Linked DNA regions of Homo sapiens: region 1 is linked to region 2. The links are contacts of gene promoters, found by promoter capture Hi-C in human tissues and cell types (Jung and others, 2019). All regions are on one chromosome and are shown on one strand. The core of a region is centred on a gene start or on the middle of the fragment in contact, and the rest is flanking DNA. Distances in the headings are between cores, read along the strand shown. Region 1 overlaps SDK1 (sidekick cell adhesion molecule 1). Region 2 holds the start of GNA12 (G protein subunit alpha 12).

Region 1 (2,700 bases), core at 23-2,522, 640 kb before region 2:
ATGGTTTTAATGAAGAGTTTTTCAAATCTTCAAAAAATAGATAAAACCAATATTATATAAACTGTCCTAACGGGACAAAGAATAAGATTTTTTAAAAACCTAAGATGTTTTAGAAAGCCACCATAGTTGGATTCATAAATATAATAAGAAAACACACTTACGTGGGAATAGCACTTATGAATATAGATGGAACATTTTTAAATAAAGTTTAAAAATTACCAGAGAGAAAGGTGGAGCAAGATGGCTCAAAAAAAAAAAAAAAAAAAAAACCCTCCAAAGATCATCCCCTCAGCACAAACATCAAAATGAACAACTATCCATACAAGAAAGCATTTTCATAACAGCTAAAAATCAGATGGGAGATGACAGGACCTGGTTTTAGCTTAACAAGAAAAGATGCATTTAAAGGGGTAGGGAAGACAGTCTCACATTACCTACACCCTGGTACCTCATCCCCAGGCAGCACAGCCTGGAGGGAAAACACCTATGCTTGGGGTAGGGAAAGCAAAGTGAGTGTGGGACTTGGCATTGGAACTAGGTGTTAGCCCTGCCACGGTGGAACCCAGCACTGAACTCAAACAACTCAATCGCAAATAAGCAAATAATCTGATTTTTAAATGGGCAAAGTATCTGAAGAGACATTTCTCAAAAGAAGACCTGCAAATGGCCACCACGTCTAGGGAAAAAATGCTCAATATCACTAGTCATTAAGAAACGCAAATCAAAACCACAGTGAGATTTCATCTCACCCCAGATATGATAGCTATTATCAAAAAGACAGAAAATAACAAATGCTGGCTAGGATGCAGAGAAAAAGAATGTTCATACGGTCTTGGTGAGAATGTAAATTGGCAGAACTATTATGGAAAACAGTATGGAGGGTCCTCCAGAAATGGAAAATAGAACTGCCATATGATCTAGCAATTCCGCTGCTGGGTATATACCCAAAAGAAAGGAAATTAGTCTATCAAACAGATGACCTGCAGTCCCACGTTTACTACAGCTCCATTCACAATAGCCAAGATATGGAATCAAGCTAAATGCTCATCAACAGATGAATGAACAAACAAAATATGTTATGCTTCCACAAAGGAATACTATTCAGCCACTGAAAAAATGAAATGCTGTCATTTGCAGCAACACGTTTATAACTGGAGGACATTAAGCGAAAGTCAGGCCCAGAAAGACAAATATCCCATGTTCTCACTCCTATGTGGGAGCTAAAAAAAACCGATCTTGTGGAGGTAGTGAGTGCAACAGTGTTTCCCAGAGGCTAGGAAGGGCAGGGGAGAGGAAAGTGTGAGGCGAGGTTGGTTATGGATACAAAACCACAGTTAGAGGAAAGGAATAAGTTCTAGTGTTCAACAGCACTGGCAGGAGACCATAGTTAACTATTGTACAGTTAATCCTTGAACAACTCTGGTTTGAACTGCCAGGATCCACTTATACAAGGATATTTTTCCAACCAAACTGAAAATATAGCCGTTCCTCGGTCTACATGGGGAACTAGTTCCAGGACCCTCATGTTTACCGAAATCCTCACACACTCATGTCCCGAAGTCGGCCTTGTGGAACCTCATATTCAACAAGTCAGCCCCCATATATGTAGGTTTCGCATCCAGTGAATATGTATTTTCGATCTATGTTTGGTTGAAAAAAAATGTGTGTATACATGGACCCATGCAGTTCAAATCCTACAAAACTGTACAGTATTGGAGGGATGTGAATTCATGGATACAGAAGGTGAAATTTTGTATCCGTGGGTTTGGCAGGGCCACCTGTGGACTGGAGCATGCTTCGATTTTGGTTATACAGGGGACCCTGGAATCAACCCCTCACATATACTGAAGTAAGGCATTTCTTAAATAGCTGCAAGAGAATATTTGGAGTATCCCCAACACACAGAAATGATAAATGTTTGAGGTGACAGATATCCCAATTACCCTGATTTATTACACATCATATGCGTATATCAAAATATCACATGTACCCCATAAATATGTCCAACTATTATGTATTAGTTAAAAACTAAAAATAAATTTTAAAATGTTAGACAAGTATTATGGCCATGTAGAGCTTATCCAACGTATATATAAACATTTTAATGATAAAGAGGAGAAAAAAGAAATGTTCCAATGAATTTACTATAGTCATGTATTAAAGGAGAAACATCATGTAACTATCAGAGACTGAAATAAATATCATCTAATAGTACTGAACACCCATTCCTAACAAAAATGCTTAGCAAATTCTGATAAAAGGTATATATCAAAAATTTAGAGAAAATATTACATTTAATGGTAAAATATTAGAAGCATCCATTAAAATGAAGAAGAAAACAAGGATATCTGTTCCACTTGTTAAAATCCCGCATTGTAGTGGTGCAGGGATTGCAATAAGATAAAAATTTAGAGACAGAAATATTCACAAGGAAATGATTATCACAATTTACAAACAATATGATTATTCACCTAGAAAATCAGAGGCAATCAGAAAAAGTAAGGGATTTTGGCAAGCGCAAAACATACAAGGTGAACACAAAACTCAACAGCCTTCTTACATCTTCAATATAGCCAATTTAAGCATTTAATAGGAAAGAGCAACATAAATGGAAAAGTGGGTATAAAACTAAAAAAAGGTGGCAAGATCTTTATGAAGACAACTATAAAACTTGACTAAAGGACATAAAAGAAGCCTGAA
Region 2 (2,700 bases), core at 104-2,603:
CAAAGACTTAAATCTACAACCTGAAACCATAAACATTCTAGAAGATAACATCGGAAACATCCTTCTAGACGTTGGCTTAGGCAAAGACTTTGTGACCAAGAACCCAAAAGCAAATGCAACAAAAACAAAGATAAATAGATGGGACTTAATTAAACTAAAAAGCTTCGGCACTGCAAAAGAAATAATCAGCAGAGTTAACAGACACCGCACAGAGATTGGACTTTGGGGACTCAGGGTAAAAGGTGGGGGGTGGCGAGAGATAAAAGACTACACACTGGGCCAGGCGCGGCGGCTCACGCCTTTAATCTTAAGGGATACCTGAGCTCCTTCTAGGAGGTTCTGATTCAGTAGATCTGGGAGAGTCAAGAATCTGTAATCAGCTGATCTCTATCAAGAGCTGATTTTGGGCTAGCTCACGTGCTAAGTGTTTGGTAAGTTCATGTTCTCAGTTTATATCTTCATGACGATTTGAGCAATGTCAAGCCATAACCAATGTCGTCAATGACACCCCCGTTTTACAGATGAGGAAACGGAAGCTAAGAACATCCAAAAGGGTTTGTTGGGGGGGGTGGGGAAAGCTGCTAAAAAAAGTTATGCAACTAGTACACCTAGTAACTGGTCGACTGGAGATTCCAACTCAGGCCCAGCAACTCCAGACCCCACTCTCTCAATCACTGTGAGACATAAGACTTTTGGGGGAGCTTCTGGTGATTTTAGTGATTAGTCAGCTTTTCGCAAAGCCTCCTAGAAGCCCATGCCACTCTCAAAGGGTGCATGTGTTTGAAATTTATGGCCCATCCCCCTCCAGTGTTTCTGGAAGGAAAATAGTGTAGAAACAAGATCATCGGAGGGAATACGACGAGCAGCTGAACCTCTTATCAGCATTTCCCAGCCTTTGGGCTACTCCGCGAGGTCCTGGTCTCACAGGCGGACCCAATCTGGGAACCAAGGGAGAATCTTTCTGTACACCTGGCACTTCTCGTCACGCCCCGTCCCCCGAACACCCAATCCAAAGCCCGTTGGGCACGTCTGATGTCCACTCAGAGCAATTATAATTGGCCATGGCGGACGATCGCTCCGCCTCCCGGGCGACCCCGCCTCCCTTTCATTCTGAAAGAAAGAACCTCAGCCTGGGCGTCCAATGAGAAGCGCCTTCACCTCAAAGATCCCGCCTCTTTCGGCGTCGACCCCGCCCCGAGGCCGGAAGGGATGCCCGCCTCCCTTGGCGAGATGAGCCAATCGAAGGGCTCTCACGGCCAGATGGACGGCAGCCGGCCCAATCCGCCGGGCCTCACGCGGCGCCGCCCGCCCCTCCGCCGGGCCCGAGTGGCGGCCGGGCGACGAGTGCGGGCCTCGGAGCGACTGCAGCGGCGGCGGCGGACGCGGCCTGAGGCGAGCGGCGGGGCGTGGGGCGGTGCCTCGGCCCGGGCTCGCCCTCGCCGGCGGGAGCGTCCATGGCCCCCGGGCGCCGGCGGGGCGCGGCCGCGGCCTGAGGGGCCATGTCCGGGGTGGTGCGGACCCTCAGCCGCTGCCTGCTGCCGGCCGAGGCCGGCGGGGCCCGCGAGCGCAGGGCGGGCAGCGGCGCGCGCGACGCGGAGCGCGAGGCCCGGAGGCGTAGCCGCGACATCGACGCGCTGCTGGCCCGCGAGCGGCGCGCGGTCCGGCGCCTGGTGAAGATCCTGCTGCTGGGCGCGGGCGAGAGCGGCAAGTCCACGTTCCTCAAGCAGATGCGCATCATCCACGGCCGCGAGTTCGACCAGAAGGCGCTGCTGGAGTTCCGCGACACCATCTTCGACAACATCCTCAAGGTGACGCGCGCCCCCCGCCCAGCACCTGCACCCAGGTGGGCCGGGGCGCTAACCCCCGCCCCGGGCCCCTCCGTGGTCCGCCGCCGCGGGCGGGGACCCCTGGGGCGAGGATGCTGGATCCAGCCCCGCCTGCACCCCACTCCCCCCCGACCCATTCCCCGAGGCCTGCTGGCGTCGTCTCTGCCCCACCCCGTCTCGCCCTTTTTGAGATGGGGTCTCGCTGTGTTTCCCAGGCTTGAGTGCAGTGGCGCCCTCACAGCTCACTGCAGCCTCGACCTCCCAGGCTCAAGCCCTACTCCCTCCTTAGCCTCCCGAAGTAGTGGGATTACAGGCGCGCACCACCAGCCCAGCTAATTTTTAAGTTTTTTTTTGTAGAGATGGGGTCTTGCTGTGTTGCCCAGGCTGGTCTCAGTCTCCTGGCCTCAAGTGATCCTCCTGCCTTGGTCTCCCTCAAGTGCTGGGATTATAGGCATGAGTCATGGCGCCCGGTCTGCCTCTGCCCTCTCTAGGGTGCCTGGGGACCGTGGGAGTGGGAACTCGGGCCAGCTTCTGGGGATGGGGAGTGGGGGCTTGGCACTTAGCCCCCTCCTGGATGTGCCCTAGCAGAATGGTATCTGTCCATTTCCCACTGGAAGATTTGTGGGATAGGAGCCCAACCGGCCGTGCCCTCCGGCTGAGCTTAGAAGAAGAGCAGTGGAGACTGGACGGGAACCAGCCATGAGTCTCTTTTTACTTTTCTGTTTTTTTAGAAAGGCTCTCACTCTCTTGCCCAGGCTGGTCTCAAGCCATCCTCCCACCTGGGCCTCCCAAAGTGCTGAGATTACAGGTGTGAGCCACACTTTCTAATACGAAAACTTCAAATGTATACAAAAGTAGAGAAAATAGTAGATTG

The links. The method cuts DNA at HindIII sites, captures the fragments that hold promoters and counts their contacts. A contact is called where the count stands out against the background at its distance.
Region 1: a contact is called between a fragment that was not itself captured here and the fragment with the promoter of GNA12 in region 2, in 2 of the 25 tissues and cell types used here (dorsolateral prefrontal cortex and mesenchymal stem cells).

Annotation. Positions count from the first base shown.
Region 1 is chr7:3,483,253-3,485,952 of GRCh38, reverse strand. The region is part of intron 1 of SDK1 (sidekick cell adhesion molecule 1); the gene reads right to left. Among named protein-coding and RNA genes, the nearest start is that of SDK1-AS1, 130 kb to the right of the region's middle. The HindIII fragment of the contact is 8,636 bases long and covers 1-2,700 here.
Region 2 is chr7:2,842,961-2,845,660 of GRCh38, reverse strand. It overlaps GNA12 (G protein subunit alpha 12), which reads left to right and starts at 1,353. Exons shown (of 4, transcript NM_007353.3): 1 at 1,353-1,808. The coding sequence starts at 1,500. RefSeq lists enhancers at 860-989, 972-1,266, 1,229-2,046 and silencers at 1,160-1,489, 1,830-1,879. The HindIII fragment of the contact is 31,365 bases long and covers 1-2,700 here.